3 separate regions of the Homo sapiens genome follow, and all the other regions are linked to region 2. The links are contacts of gene promoters, found by promoter capture Hi-C in blood cells and fetal thymus (Javierre and others, 2016). All regions are on one chromosome and are shown on one strand. The core of a region is centred on a gene start or on the middle of the fragment in contact, and the rest is flanking DNA. Distances in the headings are between cores, read along the strand shown. Region 1 overlaps PPARGC1B (PPARG coactivator 1 beta). Region 2 holds the start of TIGD6 (tigger transposable element derived 6). Region 3 overlaps PPARGC1B (PPARG coactivator 1 beta).

Region 1 (3,046 bases), core at 84-2,583, 230 kb after region 2:
AACAAGCTCAGGGCTCCCACTGATTCTACATTATGGTGAGTTGATAATTATTTCATTACATATTACAATGTAATAATAATAGAAATAAAGTACACAATACATGTAATGCACTTGAATCATGCAGAAACCATCTTCCCTGCATCCGCCACCCCCCACCCCCAACCCCATCTGTGGAAAAACTGTCTTCCATGAAACCAGTCCCTGGTGCCAAAAAAGTTGGAGACCGCTGGTGTAGACAAAAGAGAGTTCCAGAGGAGTGGAGTCCAGCTCAGTGATCCTGCCAGATGTCCAAAGGGAATGGGATACCCCAGTGAGAATGTTCAGTCCCTGGAGCTACACAGCTGAATAGATACTGTATTTTCCAGGGATGTTAAGACAGGCTTTCTTACTTGGGAAGGAACTGAGAGGGTTCTAGATTTCTAGGGTTGTTACCTACAATGGGAATGATGCTCCAGCCTCATCTTCTAAGATCTGACTCTGCTTACTCTGAGACCCCATGTCTGTGAGCACATCCTAATGCCATCTCTCCACACAGCCTTTCAAAGCTTCCTGATGTCTCCATGAATGCAAAGAAAAAAATCAGGAAGAAGGCTCTTCCCCTGGGAGTCCTGAATAAGCCATCATTTCTAAACAATCATTCATTATCAAGGAATCTTTCTAGTCTGCCTCTCCCAGACCATATCTCATAGAGCGGGGAAAAAGGCTGGAGGCACAAGCATGCATGTGTGGGCTCTGGGACTTCCCTGCATGAACACCCACATAGGTCCCAAAGCTTACCACTGTGAACCGAACACCCCAACCCACACCTTCCTCTCCCAGCAAAGCCAGCAAGGGAAATGGGCCGAGATGCCCAACTTTACAGAAAGAGGACTGTTGTTTTCTAGTGCAAGGAAGACTTCCTCCCCTGGCATGAGGGATATCCTTACCATGGACCAAAGAGTTTCCAGGACAGCTCTCTAGCCACTCAATGCAGGGACCTGGTCCTCATCTCCGACAGCCTCGTCAGCTGAACCAACTTGGAAAGGAACATGCTGGTTCTGTTTCCTCCTCATAGCCCTGCTACCACCCCTCTGGGCTGGTTCCAGATGCAGGTTCTCAAAGTGCAAGCAGGAAACCTGCTTCTCTGAGAGCCATTCAGAGAAAACCTACTTTCCCCAAAGAGGCCACCTAACTGCCTTTGTGGGGGGACAGGGAGCAGTGAGGAGGAGGGGACAGATAATTTAATAATCACCCCATATTTGCCTTTAGTAGAATCCAATGAAATCATGATGGGTGCTATTGTGCTCTGTCAAGGACACGGGCAGGACTGCAGAGTATAATCCCAGGCCCTATGGCAGAAATCAAGAATGCAGCCCGTGACACCCTCTAGAATCCAGGAACAGGACAGATATTTTGGTTGAGAGGTTACTTACTAGGAGGTTTAATCATCATCCTGCCTGGTTCACATTTCCAGCTCTGCCACATGAAAGCTCTGTGTTATCAGGCAAGTTACTCAGTTACTTCTGAGCCTCAGTTTCCCTTTTTGAAATACATGACACTAATAATATTGATCTTGCTAAGTAGGATGGACTACAAAGGATAGATGCAAAGTGCTAGTCAAGCTGTCTGCCCTAGAAAAAGACCTTAATAAGCGATACCTTTAAATATATAGATTAACTGATTATTAAGGCTCTGCTAGGTCTGGTACTCTGTTTTTAATCCAGTAAAGATATTTTATTTTAGCCTGTTCTTCCTGGTTACCTTGTTGCCTAAACCACATAACTTTAGATTTTCTGATTTCTTATCATAATCATAATCATAAATTTAAAAACAAGACTTAAAATAAAAACACTAAACCTGCAATTTGAGTAGGCTGCCACAAGGTGGCAACATCATTTGTAAGGTCCAAGCTTTGCCTGAGGGTTCAGAGGTGATAGCTTTGCTACTGGTTCACAGATTAGTAATCACAACATTTCTATATGTATTCATTTTTTTTAAAACTCCTTATTAAAATAACAGCCTTAAATAAACTGGGCAATTACTATGTGCCAGGTATTGTCAAGTACTTTAAATACACTATCTAATTTAATCCTAAAACAATCTCACAGATTGGGGCTTTATTATCTCCATTTTTTTTTTTTTTTTTTTTTTGAGACGGAGTCTCACTCTGTCACCCAGGCTGAAGTGCAATGGCGCGATCTCAGCTCACTGCAAGCTCCACCTCCCGGGTTCACGCCATTCTCCTGCCTCAGCCTCCCGAGTAGCTGGGACTACAGGCACCCGCCACCACGCCTGGCTAATTTTTTGTATTTTTTTTAGTACACACGGAGTTTCCCCGTGTTGGCCAGGATGGTCTTGATCTCCTGACCTTGTGATCCGCCCGCCTCGGCCTCCCAAAGTGCTGGTCGATGTTTAGAAATAAGGAACTGAAGTCTCAGAGGGGTGGAGTGACATAATCTGCAACAGATAAGACCTAACTGAGTTCACCACTGGGCAACTTTTACAGCCATCGACCTCACAGACCAGAGGAGATATGACATTGTCCTTCCCATTTTCTCGACTAGGAGTAAACCTAGATTTGACCCCAGTCTCACATCTTTGGACTTCTGGTCAGGGGTGGTTCTGCTCCAGAGATGGTTCTGCTCCATCGGGCTAGGCCTGAGCTCGGGGTCCTGGAGAGAGGCCTTAAGTAATGTCAGTCCCCTCGTGGGGCAGTATAGAGAAAAGACTCAGTCCTGAAAATTTGCACAGGTGAAATGGTAACCGAGGTCCCGATGAGCCTTACATGCCCAGGCATATTCCCTCCCCTGCCTTCTCGCCTCCTTTAACAAGCTGACCCAAGTCACACGGCAGGAGGACGCCTCTCCTAACTTAACTGTTTCACAGGGTCCCTCCCTCTTTCTCTGCACTATTCTTGAGAAGAAGCCCACCCCAGGGAGTTGGTAAAGGACATGTGTGTTTGGGTACTACCCTCTCCTAACTTAACTGTTTCACAGGGTCCCTCCCTCTTTCTCTGCACTATTCTTGAGAAGAAGCCCACCCCAGGGAGTTGGTAGAGGACATGTGT
Region 2 (2,980 bases), core at 282-2,781:
TATACCCCAGGTAAAGCACACATTATTCCTTAGGTTCTTCCTAGTTCTCTGTCATCTCTAAATGATTCCTCTTCCTATTAAAAACAAAAACTAAACTAACAAAGAAAAACAAAACAAAAACCTACATTCTAACTGCCATAGTGCAACCCAGGAAGAGAACACAGTCTACAACTTGGCTGGGTAAGCAATAGGCCAGTAAAGGATAAGGGAAGCAGTAGTTCAAATCAAGGCTACGTGGGGACTGCGCTTTTTTGCCCTGAATTGACTTCTGGGCGGCTGAAAGCCTTGTGGAGAAGGGCAGTAACTGCAGGAGAGCATCTGTAATGAATGGCATATAGGGTACTAAGCACCCTGCGCAAAACGGGTTAGGAAACACTCATTACAGCCACCTTGGGCTGAGGGCAGGAAGACAACACCCTACGGTTTTGTTTGTTTTATTACCCTGTTCTAAGCCTGAGTACAAGTTTGTTATCAGACTCGAGGCAGCAGTATAGCAATGCAAAAAAAGGCAGGACAATTTAAGGTTAAAAACGAAGGGCTCTAGAGGACAGAAAATCCGGGTTCTAGTACAGACTACACCAGTCGCACCAGCACGGGGACCTCTGACCTTAAGCAATCTACTTACCCTAAGTCTCCGTTATTTCATCTGTAAAACAGAGTTAAGGTCAATACCTGAAATATGCGAGACACTTTCTCTGTCCCATCAGATCCTCCTTGGAATCTCACGAGATTGCCTTTGAGGGCTCAGCCATGGGCCACAGTTTGACTCTGGGCTAGCTCCTTTCCCTCATTCTGGGTCATGAATGAAGCAAGAGCCAAACCAGACAAAGTCTTGGTCAAGCTAAGACGTCTGGGACATCCGAATGTCCCATACGGATTGCGGAAGGAGGACACTAAGGCTCAGTGGCCCTACTTTGTGGAAGACTCAGTAGAGGCTCAGAGAGCCGCAGCATCCAACTCGAGGTCGCCCAGCGGCTCGGCGCGGCCCTCGAAGGCGGGACTTACCCGGAGGAGCGTGCAAGCTGCGCCGCTCACATTCCCGGAGGCGCTTGGCCCGGCGGCTGGACGAGGGGGATGGCTGGCGCACTCGCGCTCCCCGCTGTCGGCGAGAGGCGGCTCCAGTCGTGACAGCAGCAACAAGGAAGTGGAGGCGAGGGCTCGCGCGCGCATCCCGGGGGCTGAAGGAGCCCCGGCCCCGCGGCCCCGCCCGGCGACACACGGCGCGGAGTCGCGACAGCCCCTCTCGCTTCCCCTCCTCGGAGTCGCGATATGGGGTCCTGAAGGGCAAGAATAGGAGCACAGGTTCGCTCCGCAGGCTCCTCACCGATGCCTGCCGAGGGCCCCGGGGGTCAAGCCCCGGGGAGCTCGAGGAAGACGGCAGGGACACGGTCGTCACCGAGGCACCGGTTTGGCGGCTGCACCGGCAGTAGCGGCACACCACGGATCGCCAGGGAGACCCGTCCCGGCGGCCCTCGCGGCGCACCGGAAGCGGTCGGCAGCGCGTGACTGCATGCGACCCCTGGCGCAAGCGCAACAGCCCAGCCCTAGCTTGGGAGCGGACCCACACGAACTGCTCAAAGGCTTGGAGCGGGTCTAGTAAGGCGAACGGACTGCTTCCGGCCAGAGGTCCCGGGCGGAGGAGGAAGCTGTGGCTGCCGGCGGTGGGACGCCCCGGCCGCTCAGCCCCCGGGCACTGCTGTGGGGCGTTCAGGTAACAGGGGCGGGGCTGTGCTGAGCGTGAGGGATCTAGGCCCCGCCTCACCTTTCAGAGCCACGTCGGGCGCTGGGAAGCCTACAATACCACCCTCTCCTCAGCACGACGTTCAAGGCCTGACCTCAGCCTGTCTCAGTCTTTCCCTCTCATTCAGGATCGGGTTCATACGTAGTGCCGCATCAAGTAGCGCCTTCATCACTCCAGTGATCTGCCCTCAATCCGTCTCTCCCACTGGCCCACGAATAGTGATGGTAGTGAGTTCCTGGAGTGACTCAAGCTGAGCTGAATGACCGTATGGAGAGCTTCCGTAAATCAAATAGGGATTGGATTGGATTGTCCTTTCTCTCCAGTGTCACAAGTTGTCCACATTTGTACAAGTTCCCGCACAACCCTCACTGTATTCCAGTCTGCCTACTTCTCTGCATCTACCGCCATCACCAACCTTCTAGCCACCATCATCTCCTGCCTGGACTGATGTAGTTCTCCCCACATCCCCTCTACAATCCATTCTCCACGAAGCAGTCAGATTGATCATTTTGCACTGTAAGTCTGATCAAGTCACTCCCTGCTTAAAACCCTCCAGTGTCTCATTCACTTAAAATAAAATTCAGACGTCTTAGCTTGACCAAGACTTGTCTGATTTGGCTCTTGCTTCATTCTCTTTCTATGTCTCCTCTCAATATTAGTAGTTCCCAGAACCAGCTATATAGCACTCTGTAGTGTTTGGAGTGCTAGCTTTGTTGTGAGCCTCCTGGGTTTGAATCCCAGCCCTGCCACAAGTAAGCAATATTAAGCAAGTAAAGTGCTTAACAAATGAGGTTTACGCAGTAGATCCTCCCACCTCAGTAAATGGCACCATCATCTGCTGGATTCCTCAGTGCTCAAACCAGAAACCTGGGCGTTATCCTTGACTCCTCCTTCACCTCACATCCGGTCCAGCACAGGGCTTGCAAAAACATAGCCCCAGACTGACTACTACTCACCATCTCTCTATTACTACTCTAATCCAAGCCACCATTATCTCATGTGGACTCCTGCTTTTTTCTCTGATACCCTTCCATTCTTTACACAGCAGTCATCTCTCCTTCCTTAAAATCCTTCAATAGCTTCCTATTGCACTCAAATTAACATCCAAACTGTATATGGCCTACTGGTTTAGCCTGCTTTTATCTTCAGATTTAAGGCCATCTCTTAGGAAAATCAACTTTACCCATTAGGTTCTCTACCCTGCAACCAAAAGACTATATTGTAAATCTGATCATGTCA
Region 3 (3,013 bases), core at 275-2,774, 190 kb after region 2:
CTGGTCAGGGCTTGGAGTAAGGCGACCCCACAGGAGGTCACCAGGTCTGGCGGGAGTGGATCTTCCAGTCCAGAGAAGAAGATGGGGTCCAGTGCTCAGAACTGAGCTCCAAGGCTGGGCCAGACCCAGCCAACCAGTAAGAAGCCCAGTTTCCAGGGACCAAGGCAGCTCTGCCTGGTAGGCAGGGCAACAGGATGGAGAAAGCCAGGATCCCTGACACTGCCCTGGGACACCTATCTCAGGATCTGAGAGAGGACTCAACTCAGAGCTCATCAAACTTCTTATCATTTGGAGGGAGTTTTCTGCTACTTGCAGCCAAAGCTAATCCCATCCAGGCCATCTCAGGCCTTTGGTATAACAGGGGCTTTCCTAACCAGCCTCTACTTGACCAACCAACTTGGTTAACCAACACTCCCCACCCTCTCCTGTAATAACACCCTTTACTAATGCCTAAGGTGCCTGAGAGCCTCAGCTGGTCTGCTCCCACCGACTTAGTTGTTTATTTACTAAGATTCAGCTGTTTCTTCCCAAACCCACTCGATAGTGTAATTACAAAATTTCACTAACTGGTCCGTAAACAGAAAATATGAGTACAAAAGACGAGATTTCAATGAAAACTAAGTTGAAGGCTGTGGAAGGATTCAATAAAGTTGAGCTGCTAAAAAGCAAACAACACTGCCATCAAATTTCATGTGAATGAGTTCATGGTAAAAGATTATGAGAAATTTGCAAGAATCAAGAAAGATTCAGCACTCAGACTGCTTGACAAGAGTCAAAGTTCTTGATCCAGCTGAATGCATCCTGAAACTGGAAACTAGAACCCTGGCACTGTGGGTGTGGACTATGGAGGGAAGATGACTTGCGGTTTCAATGCTGGCACCACAAACAGTCCTATAGCAAAAGACTGGCAAAAATGAATATACATGTCATATGGCTTCGCTAAAAGACAACGTAGGCATGTGTTTCACAATTTTGCGCTTTATCTGACTTTTTCCTAGGAATTCCCCTCTGCAGCCTCCCTGCACCTCCCAGCCGTAGTTTCCACTCTCATTAGATAAGAAGGTGACTACTGCACACAGGCTCTGGCCCCCATGACACAGGAAATAAAGTCTTATGATGGACTACCATAACACAGAACCAAGGTTTTGTGTACCGGAAGGGTCTGGAGTAACACTTTTTGTGAATGAATCTCTCAATTTGCAAATTAAGACATTGAGGCTGAGAAAGCGGGAAGAGGGAGTCACCCGAGATCCACACAGCCAGCTCCTCCCAGGGCCGGAACACAAACCGGGATCTCCCGTGTGACCTGTCCAGACCAGTTTCCAGACAGGCCACTTTCTCAACATCTGTGGCCCATCCACCAAAAGTTCTACATTAGATCCATCTCTCTTTAAATGATAAGGGAAAGAGAGAACAGGCAGTCTCCTGGGTAGGTGTTATCTTACAGTCATCTCCTTACCCACTCCTATTGCCTGCAAGCAGCCCCTTATCCACTGAAGATCTGCAAAGTCTCTCGTTGCTGTGTCGGGGTGAGATGACCTGGGGTGAGGCAGCTCCTGGATGGCCTGGCAGGTGGCTGTGCAGAGCCCAGACTCCCCTCCTTCAGCACCGAGGTCAGCTAGGCCCCCCACCCCACCTTCGGCAGCATGGATCCTGGCACCTGTCAGGAGGGTGGCCTATCAGCAGGTACAAGCCTGCCCCAGGCCCAGGAAGGCAGTGTTTCATTTTGTTTGTAAACAATAAGGTTGAAGTATATTCTGCGCAAGGTGTTTTAAGGCAGGGTAATATACACATTGTGTCTGCCTGCACTCACAGTCAATTTTATGCACTTGAACTCAAGGGCCTCTTGAATTCAAAGGAGAGTGGCAGGAAAGCACTTGCTAAACTGTAAAATGATGTACAGGTACATGTTGTTAGGCTTTGTTGAGGCAGGGCTGGCCCTGGCTCATAACTTGCTAGTTACAGGGAGTTGCTTGCCCTCTCCGCATCTCTCAAGACCAGCCTCCCTCCTGGAACAGTTGTGTGGCTTGAGTGTCCACCCCGGGGCCTCTGTGCTGGAGCCTTCCTCAGCCTGGAACGCCTTCTCTCTCCTTCATCTCCCATAGCGGCTCCCTTCTTTCTATCCTCATCCCAGGTTGAACGTCCCTCCCCAGATGGGCCTCCCTGACCACTGCACCCCAAATGGCCATCCCGTCTCTGGCCTACCTAGCACCCTGCTGGAATTCCCTCGATTAGCACTTATCATTCTCTGCTATCCCCTGCCTCCTTTTATCAGTATGTTTTTAAATTGTGGTAAAATATAAATAACATGAAATTGATTAATTTTTTTTTTTTTTTTTTTTTTTTTTTAAGAAAGGATCTCACTCTGTCGCCCGAGCTGGAGTGCAGTAACATGATCATGGCTGATTGCAGCCTTGAATTCCCGGGCTCAAGCAATCCTCCCGCCTCAGCCTCCTTAGTAGCTAGGACTACAGGTGCACACCACCACTCCCAGCTTGCTTGCTTGCTTATCTATCTATCTATCTATCTATCTATCTATCTATCTATCTATCTATCTATGGTAGAGATGGATCTATCTATCTATCTATCTATCTATGGTAGAGATGGATCTATCTATCTATCTATCTATCTATGGTAGAGATGGATCTATCTATCTATCTATCTATCTATCTATCTATCTATCTATGGTAGAGATGGATCTATCTATCTATCTATCTATCTATCTATCTATCTATCTATCTATCTATGGTAGAGATGGATCTATCTATCTATCTATCTATCTATCTATCTATCTATCTATCTATGGTAGAGATGGATCTATCTATCTATCTATCTATCTATCTATCTATCTATCTATCTATGGTAGAGATGGATCTATCTATCTATCTATCTATCTATCTATCTATCTATCTATCTATCTAAGGTGGAGATAGGGGTCTTTCTGTGTTGTCCAGGCCGGTCTCAAACTCCTGGGCTCAAGCAGTCCTCCTGCCTTGGTCTCCCAAAGTGCTAG

What was found. The method cuts DNA at HindIII sites, captures the fragments that hold promoters and counts their contacts. A CHiCAGO score of 5 or more calls a contact.
Region 1: a contact is called between a fragment that was not itself captured here and the fragment with the promoter of TIGD6 in region 2, in 1 of 17 cell types (erythroblasts). The highest score is 5.3, in erythroblasts.
Region 3: a fragment that was not itself captured here is called in contact with the fragment with the promoter of TIGD6 in region 2 in 1 of 17 cell types (erythroblasts); the score reaches 8.6 in erythroblasts.

Annotation. Positions count from the first base shown.
Region 1 is chr5:149,764,945-149,767,990 of GRCh38, reverse strand. All of the region lies in intron 1 of PPARGC1B (PPARG coactivator 1 beta), which reads right to left. Among named protein-coding and RNA genes, the nearest start is that of MIR378A, 34 kb to the right of the region's middle. The HindIII fragment of the contact is 1,117 bases long and covers 775-1,891 here.
Region 2 is chr5:149,999,205-150,002,184 of GRCh38, reverse strand. It overlaps TIGD6 (tigger transposable element derived 6), which reads left to right and starts at 1,531. Exons shown (of 2, transcript NM_030953.4): 1 at 1,531-1,711. HMGXB3 (HMG-box containing 3) reads right to left here and starts at 1,446. Exons shown (of 20, transcript NM_014983.3): 1 at 1,006-1,446. RefSeq lists enhancers at 552-631, 1,519-2,307 and a silencer at 1,712-1,791. The HindIII fragment of the contact is 5,274 bases long and covers 1-2,980 here.
Region 3 is chr5:149,809,024-149,812,036 of GRCh38, reverse strand. The region is part of intron 1 of PPARGC1B (PPARG coactivator 1 beta); the gene reads right to left. Among named protein-coding and RNA genes, the nearest start is that of MIR378A, 78 kb to the right of the region's middle. The HindIII fragment of the contact is 3,742 bases long and covers 1-3,013 here.